Linked DNA regions of Homo sapiens: all the other regions are linked to region 1. Evidence: promoter capture Hi-C in 16 types of primary human blood cells and fetal thymus (Javierre and others, 2016). All regions are on one chromosome and are shown on one strand. Each heading gives the region's core, a stretch centred on a gene start or on the middle of the fragment in contact. The rest is flanking DNA. Distances are from core to core; before and after follow the strand shown.

Region 1 (4,751 bases), core at 1,669-4,168:
TACATTCATAGGGATTTGAAATCTAAACTTATATTAAAAGGAGAGGGGCCGGGCGTGGTGGCCCATGCCTGTAATCCCAGCACTTTGGGAGGCTGAGGAGGGCAGACCACTTGAGGTCAGAAGATCGAGGCCATTCTGGCTAACACATGGTGAAACCCCGTCTCCACTAAAAATACAAAAAATTAGCTGGGCGTGGTGGCATGTGCCTGTAGTCCCAGCTACTCGGGAGGCTGAGGCAGGAAAATTGCTTGAACCCGGGAGGTTGTAGTGCGTTGAGATCATGCCACTGCACTCCAGCCTGAGCAACAGAGCGAGACTCTGAAAAAAAAAAAAAAAGAAGAGAAAAGGAGAGGGGGCAGGGAAGAGAGAAACCCTATTTTACTTCTAGTACTTACCCCTCCCCTGCTAGGTGAGATATCACTTCCATACAGAGCTTTTAACTGCCTGTGCAAGAGCCTCCATTGTGACAAGCTGCAATGTTTTAGGTCAGTAGTCACCAAACTTTTCTATAAAGGACCAGACAGTAAATATTTTCAGCTCTGTGGGCTATATGATCACTATGGCAATTATTCATTTCTGCCTTATTACATGAAAGCAGCTATCAACAATATGTAAGCAAATGCGCATGGCTTTGTTCCAATAAAACTTTATCTGTGGACGCCAAAATTTGAATTTTGTATAAGTTTCATGTGTCAAATAGTTACTTGATTTCCCATACAACCATTTAAAAATGAAAAAGGAAAAAAAAAACATTCTTAGCTCAGGACGGTAGCAAAACAGGCAGTGTGCTGAATTTGGCCCACAGGCAGTAGCTTGCAGACCCCTATGTCCTGAAAGTTCTCTGATGGAGAGACTGCTGAACTGTAGGGCAGGGATTGCTGAGCTCTGACTTATATATATGACTCACTGGGCATGAGTCCCATGTAAGTTGTATAGTTAGCCAATGTTGTTCAGGAATGAAGGGAAGGACCATAAGGGCCCTTTTTTGTGAGACAAATTTATTGATATAGTCAGTCCTCATTATTTACAAAATTCAAACTTGCCTACTGGTTAGAATTCATTCATAACTCCAAAATCAATACTCAAGGTACTTTTTTGAAAAATAGAGACAGGATCTCGCTCTGTTGCCCAGGCTGTAGTGCAGTGGCACAATCATAGCCCACTGCAGCCTCAAACTCCTGGGCTCAAGTGATCCTCCCGCCTTGGCCTCCCAAAGCGCTGCAATTACAGGCATGAGCCACCACACTTAGCCTTTGCTCGAGGTATTTTTGCAATCATTCTCTGACTTGTGGGGAACAGCAAAAAATTTGAGTCACCCAATGCTCCTGTTCTCAGCTGAGATATAACAAAATAAAGCGCTGCCCTCTTGTTTCAGTTCATGTTAGGTACACACGTCCCTTTCAGAGTCTATGTAGCAACCTGTTTTACACATGTTGGTGCTTTTGGTTGGTGATTTTGCTGTTTAAAATGCCCCCTAAGCATAGTGCTGAACTGCTAAATTAGCTGTGGTATGAATGTTTGTGTATTTCCAAAATTAATAGTTTGAAGCTTAATCACCCGTGTCAGAATGATAGGAGATAGGGCCTCTGGGACATGATTAGGTCATGAGAACACAGTCCTCATGAACGGGATTAGTGCCCTCATGAAAGAGGCCCCAGAGAGCTGCCTTACCCCTTCTACCAAGTGAAGACACAATGAGAAGGTGCCATTTATGAACCAGAAAGTGGACCCTTATCAGGGTCTACCAAATCAAGTGGACTGTCAAGTGGTATTAGCAGGACCCTCATCCATTGACACTGAATGGCCTGGTGTCTTCATGGTGAATTTCCCAGGCTCCAGAACTGTGAGAAATACATTTCTGTTGTTTATAAGCTACCCAGCTTATGGTATTTCGTAACAGCAGCCCAAATGGACAAAGTTCCTAAGTGGAAGGCAGCTGCAATGTCCTTGTTAAAAAAAAATAATGTCTTAGATAAGCTTCATTCAAACATGAATTATAGTACTTTTGATATGAGTTCAATGTTAATGAATCAACTACATATATTAAATAATGTGTCTTTAAACAGAAACACACTTAAAACAAGGTTATGTACTGACTGGCTGATGAGAATGTTGTGACGAGGTTTATAGCAGCATAACTTATTTCCCCCTAGGTGTGATGTTTCAGTATTTGCTAATTTGGTGTTCATGATGCCTTTACTGAATATAACTACCTCAAATAATGAGAACTGACTGTATACTGACACTAAAAGGACAAGGTCTCACTCTGTCACCCAGGCTGGAGTGCAGTGGTGTGATCATGGCTCACTGCAGCATCGAACTCCTGGACTCAAGCGATCTTCCCGCTTTGGCCTCCCAAAGAGATAGGATTACAGGTGAAAGCCACAGCACAGCCAGGATTGTATTATTAAGGCACATGTGCCTTAGTCTGTCACTTCTGAGTGGTTTCTCTCTTAGCTTACTAATATAAGAAGCAAATCCACAGACAAAGAGGGATGGGAATAAGCAATTTTCATAAGAAACACAAACAGCCAATAAATATACAAAAATCCTTCACTGATAGTCGGAAATAAATATTAAACAAATGAGATATTTTTTCTCCTATTAGATTGGCAGAAACAGAATTACTTTTATAAGACAAAAGAATTGAGGTAAGATATATGTTGACTACCTTAAATCCCAATATGGGATTTAAATAAAAAAGCAACTTCTTTAAAAATTCAAAGATGAATTTAAAATTTGCTTAGGAAGGTAATTCTGAAGCTGATTTCAAGAGGCAAAGCTAAAATAATGAATGTAAGATTCTAAATAACAAGTTATATAGATGTAATATAGAAAAATCACAGGTGCTGTTGACCTTATCTTTAGCCTTTGGTAATTAGGACTTGAACTATAACAGCCTTTTATTTCTACCTACCCGCAACCCTCTGCTTTTATGTACTTTACCTCTGCTTACTTCTCTGCAGCCAGACAGTGACTTAGGCAAATAGGAAGGTAGGTGATGTGCTATTAGTGTTTTAAAAGGCTTTCATCTCTTCCATGGTTTTTCATGGTGTTATTATCTCTTATCAGTAGTTAATTTATATAGTATTTCCATGATGCCTTCTTAACAATATCCAGTGTATTAGCGTCACCTCCTTCTTACACAGTAAATTCATTTCAACACTGCATTGGCCAGAAAGGACATGCAGTAAATGTTAATCAATTCTATTGCCATAAGAAACGTGCATGGAGTTAAAGTTCACAAGAAACAGAAGCTAGAGAACTAACAGCAAAGTGGAACTTGCTGCTCATTAGTTCACGAACACACTCCCCAAAAGTGAAGAGAGACACTCTCACCTGAAACTAGTGCTAGAAGTAGTTATCCTGTTCACACAGCACACCCTACTGCCCATGGGGGAAAGTTCACTTCCAATGCACAACTGAGAAATTAAATATGGACCCTGCTGGCCAGCCTCCACCTAAATCTCATCTCTAATCGATCTGCAATTCAATAACATGCATGTCTTCTTTTGCCCCTACCTTTCGTGATGGCTTCAGCTGAAACATAAAAGGGCTTTAAAAGATTAATAGTTCCATCTTGATGCCAGGTGAAGTAAATTCCCAATTCATTCAATCCTCACTGTGATGTTTTGCACTTGGTACAAAGTAGATGCACAATAATGTTTTATAAAAGCACCACAATAAGATAGGTATTATTTTTATCTTTTTTTTCAGAAGACTTAAAAGGATTAATTAGTAACTCTCCAAAGATCCCAAAGCCCAAGTAAGTGGGGGAGCCAAGAGTTGAACCTCATCTAACTCCAGAGCGTATGCTTAATGACTACACTATATTACCCTCTTATTCTTTAATGCTAAAATAAGCTTTCAGCATTAAAAAGAAATGAACCGTCAGGTGATAATTAGTTTCAAAGTCTACCATAACAGGTTAGGCCTTTTAATAGCTTTAATACCACAGCTTTTGCTAAAGATTGATCAAGAACACAGGCCATTTCCTAAATACCTCACACAAAGGCAACTCTAAGCAAGTGCTAATTTTAAAACAGGGCATATGCCATGTTATCAATAGGAATCCAAAGTTAAACAACAGAATGGGCTAAGTGTGGAGCTTCTGGCATATGCTGGGATGTAACAGCCCTTCTCTTTAAATCAGGTGTTGCACCCATATAGTTTGCTAAGGATAAGGTATGAATAAGGAAATGCTGGGGCTGTAATGAATAGGTTTTCATTATTGTGGATTTGAAACAAACTTTTAAAAGCGTGTGTGTGTGTGTGTGTGTGCATGTGTGTGTGTTGGGTAAAGGATTACGGAGATTAACATTCAAAAGACAGTCAACAGAGAATAGTCCAGAAGTGGAAGGAATTTACGACTTAGCCTTAGAGTTTTCTCACGTTAATACCAACCTATTGGTAATGCCTGCCTGGAGCCCTGTTTCAGGAAGTATTGTGAGACCCGTTCTGAGTTCTACAAAGAAAGGGTGCTGTGTTGATTAATAATGTCTGTCCTGGCAGAGGAAAGGAGGGGAGCATATTAACTGCATAGTTGCTTTTCTTAGGACTAGAAGATTCACAGGAGTGCCATATTTGTTCATTACCACAGAGCTATCTCAGAGCTGCCAGCTAGGACTGAGAGGAAAGATCACACTGCAGACCCAGGATATTTAAATCAGAAAATAATTTTAACCGTGAAAACACAGGGTCTATGGGATTTATCCTCAGATGTAATAAGATAAGCCCACAGATGCGCTTAG
Region 2 (4,751 bases), core at 1,038-3,537, 410 kb before region 1:
TGGCAGATTGCTTGAGTCCCTGAGTTCGAGACCAGCTTGGGCAACGTGATGAAACCCGGTCTCTGCTAAGAATACAAAAAATCAGCTGTAGTCCCAGCTGAAGTGGGAGGATCACTTTAGCCTGGGAAGTCAAGGATGCAGTGAGTCGTGATCTCGCCACTGCACTCCAGCCTGGGTAATGCGAGGGAGACTCTGTCTCAAAAAAAAAAAAAAACAAAGAAAGAAAGAAGAAAAGGAAATTGACTGCTATGTTCCATCAAACCTCAAGTTCCAAGGCCATGGAATTCTAAGTGAACAGTGGGGACACCAAAAAGGAATCCTTTTTCCCCCATTTTCCCCCCTTGGAGTAGTTAAGTATTGTGGTTTTTCACTTTGGCGGCCCTCAAGAGTATGGTGTTATCTGCTGTAAATCTGATCTGAATTACAATAACATTTTCACTTGGAGCTTTTATCCAAGAATGAGTTGACAGCAGTTTTATAAAAATTTAAAAACACATATTAATAGTAACAATGACTCTACTTGTAATAAAAATATATACCTCTTGAATCTTCAGAACCACTCAGAAGCTTCTGTGATGTTTCAGGTCTCTAAAACCTGTCAGAAATGAAACATATTACCTTAAAAGGATGCTAAAGTAAACCTGATCATTCAGATGATGTTGTGAATTAAAGGAAATATTAAGAAAGAAAATAATGTAACGTGATAACTCTCAGCCAGAAGGCCTGGCCGGTGGTGCGCTTTCTTTTCCTTAATGAATACCACACTGCTATACTCGAGTTCACAGGCACCACCCCCAACACAGCAACTCGGACCAGATTCCAATGGGGAACGGGAGGAGGTGGCCCACTTTCTACAGGCATCCACTGGAACTGGCCAACAGGATACTTAGTGGATCAAACATTCCCAGAAGCAAACAACTTTCCCATTCTCACAGCAGTAATCCCACTGGCTGAATCACAGGGCTACCCACCTAGAGTGGCGAGCCTGAGGGTTCCCAGGCCTTCCTATTTTTTGACTCGTCCTTCCCGGTAATAAAGTCATTGTTATGACCAAGCCCTGACCTTTGGTTATCCAAGTCCATTGTCCTCCAGTGAGCTCTGGCCATCACTAAACTCACCGATCAGTGGAGAAGTAACGCTTAGGCGATGGAAAAAATCTAAAGACGCAGATCAGAAAGCTGGCGTCTGGCGAGGGCATGTACCCACTTGCATAAGGCGGCTGGGGGTGGCTGCTGGGCCTGGCACAAAGCCTTCCTGGTGTCGGTCGTCCTGCAAGGCCCGCCGGGATGGGTGGCTGCACTCCTCCAGCACACGGACGCTTTACTGGCCAGGCTACTTTTCCTTCAGCTCAAAGCAGCTGGAATCACTCCACTCCAGAAACCCTTGATTCGATTTCCACAGGCCTAATGAGGAAGGAAAAAAGGGAAACATCTGAAAGATGATGGATAGGAGGCAAAACCTGGGGTTGACACAGCGGGCGAAATGGGGCAATGTCGCAGAGAGAGAGAGCTTGGAAAAGTTTAAAGACGGCAGTGGGCAAATGGAAAGTTCAACACGTGAGACCCCGAATGACACCTCAACGGCTGGCCCCTACTTGTGCCAAAAAGTCTCTCGGCGGGTGCCAGGCAGGGCTCAGGAAGTGCTCGGCTGCCCCTTGAACGTCAGTCCCGGCAGAGCCCAGCTGTCCGCTTGAACGTCAGTCCCGGCCAAGGGCTGAGGGGTCAGTGGCGAGCACCCCGCCGCGGCTGAGACGCCGCGCTGGGGTTCCGGACCCCGGGCGCCGCCAGGGATTGCTTCGGGGTCGGTGATCTCCCGGGGCCGCCCGCCACCGTGCACCGCGGCGCCCCGGGTCCCCAGCGCGCCTGGGAGGGGCCCCGGGGAGCGGCTCCGCCCCGGCTGGAAACCTGGTCAACGCGGCTAGGGCCCGGGGCCCGCCTGCGCTCCGGGCGCTGGGAAGGGGCCGGGCGCCCGGGGCCGGGGAGGGCCAGGATCGGCTTCCGACGCCCGCCTCCCGGCCCGCAGGGAATGGGAAGGCGCGGGCGGAGTGCGTGCGTAGGCTATAGCCCTCCGGGAAGCCGCGCCGGGAGCGGCTACCACCCGGGCAAGAACAGCGCAGAGCGCTGCGGCGGCGGGAAGGAGAGCGGGGGAAGGCTCCGCAGATTGCGGGGGAGTCCCACCTGGAGCCGGGGCAGCCGTGAACTACCGAGGAGGAGGCGGAGGAGACGGCGGCTGTTCCAGAGGAGGGAGTCGTCATAACCGGCTACTGCCGCTCACCGGAAACCTCGGGCGCGGGAGCTGGGCCAGGGGGCGCCAAGGAGCAGCTGGGACACCTTGGCCAGCCGGCGCCGTGGGCGGGCTCGGGCCCCGCAGAGGCAGGACCGGGACTACACCCAGGAGGGCCAGGGCGCGGGGCCCGACGCTCGGAGCGGCTTCAGCCCGGCGAGCGGCCTCGACCCGGCGAGCGCAGCAGGGAGGGGCTCAGAGTCGAGGAACCATCTGCCCTTCCTGGCGTTCTCCCGCGAACGTTCGCGCGAGTCCGCCAGCTCCCTCACCAGGGCCGGAAAGACCGACGGCACGTGCCGGCGCCGGACGCCCATCTCCATCGCAGCAGCCCGCGCCTCCTTGAGCGAGAGCGTTAAAGCGCTCAGAGGATGTTAGGACGGGGTGGGTAGAAAACCTGACTCTTCGTGTCTTCTGCGTTGCACTGAGGTGGATTTTTACTTTTGTCTTATTTCAAGCAGAAGTTGCCGCCCTAACTTCCAAATTTGGGGACTGAACATCGTTCACCGAATACACTTTGTGATGGTGAGGATACTTTGGAGTCCACACACATTTTAAAAGCAGTATAGTTTTACCTATCCGTAAACTCATCAAGTTCAAATGCTACTCTGTGGAGTTTAATTTTTATGGTTTTGTTAATTTACTTTATTACTGCTTATAATTATTTGAACTCCCATCCCCCACTGTCTTTTCCTCTAAGCTCCCCCAGGCCTAGTATTCCATCTACAGCACAGTAGAGTTGATCATTAAATAGTGACTAAAGTTGAACTGATTATATGAAGGTGATGACTTCAAAATAAACATGCTCAAATGAATATAGTCACCAGAAGTTAAATAATATGATCATAAGGAAACAAGTTTGTTTCCAAAGGCTTACATGCTTTTTACGTAATTTTTAAAAGTAATGTTGTTTAAGAATTGTTACAAGTTCCATTAGTGACCTGCTAAATTAGGAATCTTACCTGGAATTTTTTTCAAATAATAACAGCAAGAACATGTGGTGTTTAACATGTGCCAAACATTGTTTTAAAGCACTTTACAGTATTAATTTATTCTTTTTATTGAAAAGATTTTGCCTCTAAGGGAACTGTCAAGAGGCATGTGAACCGGAGCAACTCCATCTTAAATAGGAGCTGAGTAAAATGAGGCTGAAACCTACTGGGCTGCATTCCCAGGCCGTTAAAGCATTCTAAGTCGCAGAATGAGATAGGAAGTCGGCACAAGATACAGGTCATAAAGACCTTGTTGATAAAACAGGTTGCAGTAAATAAGCCGGCTAAATCCCACCAAAACCAAGATGGCCATGAAAGAGACCTCTGGTAGTCCTTACTACTATACTCCTATCAGCGCCATGACAGTTTACGAATGCCATGGCAATGTCAGGAAGTTACCCTATATGGTCTTAAAAGGGGAGGCATGAATAATCCACCTGTTTAGCATATCATCAAGAAATAACCATAAAAATGGGCAACCAGCAGCACTCAGGGCTGCTTTGTCTATGGAGTAGCCATTCTTTTCTTCCTTTACTTTCTTTTTTTTTTTCCTTTACTTTCTTAACAAACTTGCTTACACTTTGCCCTGAATTCTTTCTTGCTCGAGATCCAAGAACCCTCTCTTGGGGTCTGGATTGGGACCCCTTTCCTATAACAGAATTACTGCTCTATTATTTTATACTTTGCATACTTCACCATCCCACACTAATGACAGTAATTTTTTAAAATGCTTCCTCAAGCCAGGCACTGTGGCTCATGCCAGTAGTCCCAGCTACTCAGGATGATCGCTTGAGCCCAGTGAGGTTGAGGCTGCAGTGAGCCATGATTGAGACACTGCACTCTAGCCTGGGCCACAGTGAGACCCTGTCTCATAAAAAAAAAAAAAAAAAGCTTCCTCAGCCTACTTGCTACCATCCTATTTTTGTCACATACAAAAAGGTTAAAATCAGTATGACATGTGCATGGTACTATTTTATTTTATTTTTTTTGTAGAAACAGGTTCTTGCTATGTTCCCAGCACTTGTTTCCAACTCCGGGCCTCAAGTGATCTTCCAGCCTCGGCCTCCTAAAGTGCTGGGTTTACAGTTGTGAGCCACCACGCCTGGCTATGTGGTGCTATTTTAAACACCTACATATTGAATGGTCATTCAGACTTACAGGAAACCAGATATGATAAACCTGAACATGAGATTGAGTCTCTCTTACTGTAACAGCCATTCTCAAATAGAATTTCTCTCCAAAATACCAATGTTAGAATTTAAATTTTCTTTGAGCTGACATAAAACTCAAGTGTCTACCAATAGAAGGCTGGTTGAATAAACTATGGTTTATCCATACAATGTAAAACTATGCATGCATAAAAAGGAATTGAGAAATATCTCTGTACACTACAGAATATTGAGTGGGAAAAGGATATGTAATATGTAAATATCATTTTTCTAAGAGGAATATGTGTGTATACATGTGTATACACATATA
Region 3 (4,751 bases), core at 1,675-4,174, 310 kb after region 1:
AGTGGTACCTAACCCTAGGGCTTAACTCATTAATGAAGAGGGATTACAGGGTACATCTATCAGGTGGCCAGCTTTTGGTTATGTGGATTAATGGTATAGCAATCCACAGAAAATCATCCATTTAAAGGAGTGAAATATTTTTATGGTGATTATGCGAAGCTCTTGTGGTTGCAAGTGACAAAAAAATAGTTCTAGCAAAAAGGAATTTTTTTTTGTTCATATATCTAAAAAGTCCAAGGATATCTGACTTCAGGTATGGTTGGAACAAGGAAGTGAAACAATGTTGTCGTACTTTTCTATTCTTTATCTTTGCTTGTCTCTTCTTCTTTTTGTTGATCTTATCTCATTCTCTTCCATTTCAAATTAGCTTCCCTAATTGCCCATGGGTAAGTAGCTCCAGATTTTCTTCTTTCTAGCAAAGCAAACAGTCTTCTCCCATTGCCCTAGCAGAGAAGTCCTAAGGAGGACTTCTAGTCATCTCAAGGTCCCCTGTCCAGTCTTAAAGGAATCAGAATGCACTGGGTAGCAGACTGCACTGTAATGGATAACCCAGCCATATGTAATGGAAAATAAGTTTTCCTGAACAAGGAGTAGGATGAGACCAGAAGAAAAGGTATAGGAGAAAAAAATAACAGCTATCTGTGTGAACCTCAGGACAACCTCAGCTCAGAGGTCTGCACCCTGGAGACCTCTCTTGCGGGTGTACTTAGTTGAAGATGAATTCGGAGGTCTTGGTTTTCCTGAGTTTTCTTTCCTTTGAGGTTAGTCCCTTAGGTCTGGAAGGTCACTATTTGATGTAATAAGTGATGGGTAGACTGTTTCACTGCAGATCTAAAGAAGTTATAAACTGCAGTTGTAACATAAAGTCTGTGATAGCCTTCAGTGGGTCAGCTGACCAAAATTATGCACAGTTTTGTTTCTATCTGTATTTTCTGAGAAGAGGATCCGTAGCTTCCCTCAGATTAAAAAACTTCTGGTGAGCCCAAAGATTAGGCAGCTTCCCATGTTTCTCAATGGGGATACATACCACTGAAATTTGGACAAGAAAATTTGTTATTGTGCAATATGTGTAGTGTCTCTGGCCCATACCCCTTAAACGTCTGTAACATCCATAAGTTATTATGACAACCCCTCCTCCCATATTCCAAGCACTGATAATTGAGAGCCCAGATGAGATTAGAAGTCTAGACTGCATGTTTCCTTCATGTTTGATCTTTCTTCTTTCTCTCCCAGAGAACATGAAGGAAACACGTTTTCTTTGTTTGCTTTTGACAGCTAATTTCCAGCAGTCCATCTATTAAGGAATCTAGGATCCCACTTTTATGAGCACAAAACTCCCACTTTCCTTAGGGGTGTTCTCAGGTATTCTGACATAGTTTAATAGTTTCAGGGGAGGGCCTAAAAGTCGTATGTTGGGGACTAATTTTTATTCTGAAAATTTGGTAATTGCTACTGCAACATAGTGTGCCTTCTGCACTTTTTCCAAATCACCTTGAGAACTCCAGCCCTAACATCGATCCATCCTACTGGATGTCTTTTCTGATGTGAAATTAAAATGTTTCAGTGGGAGGCAAGATATGCAAAGGGGTAACTCCTGGGAGGTGCCCAGTTGTCACTGTAGCCTCTTTAGAATTTTCTCCTAGGACAGTCATTTAGTTTATTAATTCTGAAAGGCCAAACACCAAAATGAGATGTTAATCTGAAAGGAATAACTTCAAGACCTAATAAAGAATGACCACTGAGCAGAGTTTTTATAGATTGCAAATCACTTTCTCTTACATTTGACCTTGCAACATCTTCTAAAACTGGTTTGCCAATCTCTTCTTTTATGGATGAAGAAATGGAGGCTTCTAGGAACCAAGTGACATGCTCAGGATTGCACAGCTCTTCTTAGAAGGACTGGGGATTTCAACTCTGAGTCTTATACCTTTAAATGCCACTGTAACTCTATACTGCCTCCCTGATGCCTCAAAACACTTTTGAAAAGAAGGAACACGTCCTACTGGAGCTAATCAGAGGGAAGAACTAGAAGTACAAATGAGCCACAACGGAGAGTTTTAAAATTCTCTTCCCTAAGTGAGTTCCGGGAAGCTCGGGAAGGGGTGGACACTTGTACAGTTCACTTGTACATCTTCACTCCTGAAATGCTAGGACAAATCTCATTTGAACTCCCAGTCAACTGAGAAATTAAAAGCAGAGAGCAACGACGCTATTTTGTAACTTTGTGCCTTTTAAAATTAACCGAATCTTTCAATTGCTGCTGTAGATTAGAAGTGGCTACTTGGATAAAGGGGAAAGAGCCATTCAACTGATGAATACTATTGTAAAAGTCCAGACTTAGTTCTAGAAAAGGAACGCACAAGAACAATTTCTCCAATAACGTTTTCATTACAGAGCGAAGGAAAGTTCTTCCTCGTTGTTCCAATCCGAGGACAAGCTGATATGTCGCAGCAGCCCAGGGAAGCATGCGAGCTGATAGGAAGTCCTTTTATTTTAAGACAGGCTCGAATGCTAAAACTTTCTTGTGCCAAAACCCTTGACTATTTTATTTTTAAAATAAGCACTTGGCGTGCCCTCGCAGATGTCTGAGCTGAGAGGTCGGGGCGATGGTAGAAGAGCAGTCAGTGTCCATTCTTATTCATATTAAGTAGCCAAGTCTGTACCCTTGAAGCAAGTGGGGAGAGAGGAGGGAGAGGAGCTGCTGACATTGACAATGAATCCAAACAGGAGTTGCACTAGCGGTGTCCACCACGTTGCCTCTCCCCCGCCTGGCCTTCTGGGAGCTGTAGTTTTCGTGGGAGCGGCTCCCCAGGCGAGCTGGGAATGCCCCGCCCGGGCCGAACTACAGATCCCAGGCGGCGCTCGGCCGCCAGCCCCTCCCGCCCGGGTGCGAGTGTAAACTCCCCGCGCTGGGGCGGGCGGCCGCGAGCCGGCGAGCGGGCAGAGCTCGGCACTGCGCCGGGGCGCACGGCTCGGGGGACCCAGGCCCAGCTACCTTCCCTCCGCCCCCGGGCTCTGTTCTCACTTTCCAGCAGTGGAAGGACGGGAAGCGGGAGCCATGCAGTCCGAATCGGGGATCGTGCCGGATTTCGAAGTCGGGGAGGAGTTTCATGAAGAGCCCAAAACCTATTACGAACTCAAAAGTCAACCGCTGAAGAGCAGGTGAGTGGTGACAGCTGGGCAGAGGCGCACCGGGCGGCTGGGGGGCACTGCGTCTGCCACTCTGGGGCGAGGAGAGCGGGTCGCGGGAGCTCTGGGACAAGGACCCAGTGCCCTTGCCCCGGAGCAGAGGGCGAACTGCCCCTCGCAGTTGGGGGCCGCGCCTGCCCGGCCCAAGTGCGCCTTTAGGAAGCTCGGATGGAGCGCACTTCGCGGGGGCGCGGCGGGTCGCCGGGGACGAAGCGTCCAGGCGCGGGGACCCTCGGCCGAGGATGCCAGCTGCTGAGACTGATTGGGGGCTGGGGAGCGACCTGGCGCGATGTGGGGGAGGAGGAGCGCCGGGCCGGGACGCTGTCCCGGTGGGATGGGGGAGAAAGAGTTCTAGTGAACCCCCTTTCTGAAGATCCCAGCGGGTTGAGGGCTCGGAGAGGGAGAGCTTTGGGTGGACTGAGATGCGACATTGGAGGGAAGCAATTAGTTCGCTTGGAGTCACCTCTTGGGAGTCCGGTCTCTGTGGGGAAACTAGCCTCTGGGCTCCTGCAGGTGAGGTTTCTCTGGGCTCCGCCTCTCACCTCCAGACCGCTGCTAGCGGGCGCGGGAGGGGCCAGGGCAGCGGTGGGCGTGTCCCCTTGTTCAAGTTAAACTCTCTGGAAATAGAGTCCCATTCAAATCCAGGCCTTACCTGCAGAGGGGAAATGAGCCTTGGTCTTGGGGGTTACTGGGAGTGTACCCCGCTTGGCAGAGACACGTGTTTAATTCGCTGGGGACTTCAGAAACTTTTTAGACGAGGAGTGAAGACATCCACTGCTCTGATGCCCCATCCCCTCTAGTGCCCACTTCCCTTGAGCCACCCTTTTTGCTGCCTCCATTCCCACTTGTCTGTCGAAATGGATTGGGTGTCTTCCGTTCTCTCTGTCCGGCAGCCACTCTGGACGCCTCGTACTTCTCGTTTACAATGTTTCCTAAAAGGGACATGGTCAATGGAGGCTGGAATAGCTGAGAAGGGTTTATTTCCACCCCTCTAAGCTGTGAGCTAGGATAAGGCTATCATTGGAAGCATCCAGCAGGGCTTCTGCACTCGGCTGTAACTTCCTGCCTTGCCCTTCGCTGTGGATGGGGCCTGGGTGAATGGGCCTGGCTGGCAGAGTGGGAGAGGGTCTTGAAATGAGGGTGAGTGGAGAAGGGCAACTGAACGGGGAGCCAAGTGGTGTAATCTTGGCCTCTGGCGAGCACTGGGCTGGTTCTTTTTCTAGTGGAAAGTGCAGCCAGGTTTATTTCCTTCAGGGCTGTGGCAGGACTCTTTATCCAAGTTGGGGAAGAAAATCTGGGAACAGCGGTCCTACTGACTGCCATTGCTGAAGACTCTTTGTAGATGCTTCACGGCAGATTGGAAGGAAACCGCCTAAGCAGTTGGACGTATAAAACCAGCCTTTAGTTGGTGGTTTTTCCTCATAATGGCTGTTTTGTGTGTGAGCATAGATTGTGTGTGTTGGGGGCTGGGGGTTTTGAGTAATATTGTGTGAAGGGTATTGTTGGTTATGCTCATCAGGGCTTTATCTGCATTCGGCTGAAGGGACCAGTGTTTTACTGGG

The links. The method cuts DNA at HindIII sites, captures the fragments that hold promoters and counts their contacts. A CHiCAGO score of 5 or more calls a contact.
Region 2: the fragment with the promoter of EOGT here is called in contact with a fragment that was not itself captured in region 1 in 1 of 17 cell types (activated CD4 T cells); the score reaches 10.2 in activated CD4 T cells.
Region 3: a contact is called between the fragment with the promoter of MITF here and a fragment that was not itself captured in region 1, in 1 of 17 cell types (monocytes). The highest score is 6.2, in monocytes.

The regions. Positions count from the first base shown.
Region 1 is chr3:69,422,062-69,426,812 of GRCh38, forward strand. It overlaps a transcript of FRMD4B not described here. Among named protein-coding and RNA genes, the nearest start is that of FRMD4B, 38 kb to the left of the region's middle. The HindIII fragment of the contact is 1,887 bases long and covers 1,976-3,862 here.
Region 2 is chr3:69,011,397-69,016,147 of GRCh38, forward strand. It overlaps EOGT (EGF domain specific O-linked N-acetylglucosamine transferase), which reads right to left and starts at 2,288. Exons shown (of 18, transcript NM_001278689.2): 1 at 2,178-2,288; 2 at 1,119-1,403; 3 at 540-595. EOGT-DT (EOGT divergent transcript) reads left to right here and starts at 1,724. Exons shown (of 1, transcript NR_185971.1): 1 at 1,724-4,751. RefSeq lists silencers at 1,606-2,155, 2,216-2,515. The HindIII fragment of the contact is 3,596 bases long and covers 566-4,161 here.
Region 3 is chr3:69,736,540-69,741,290 of GRCh38, forward strand. It overlaps MITF (melanocyte inducing transcription factor), which reads left to right and starts at 2,925. Exons shown (of 10, transcript NM_001354604.2): 1 at 2,925-3,162. The coding sequence starts at 3,059. RefSeq lists a promoter at 719-3,061 and a silencer at 2,861-3,160. The HindIII fragment of the contact is 10,451 bases long and covers 1-4,751 here.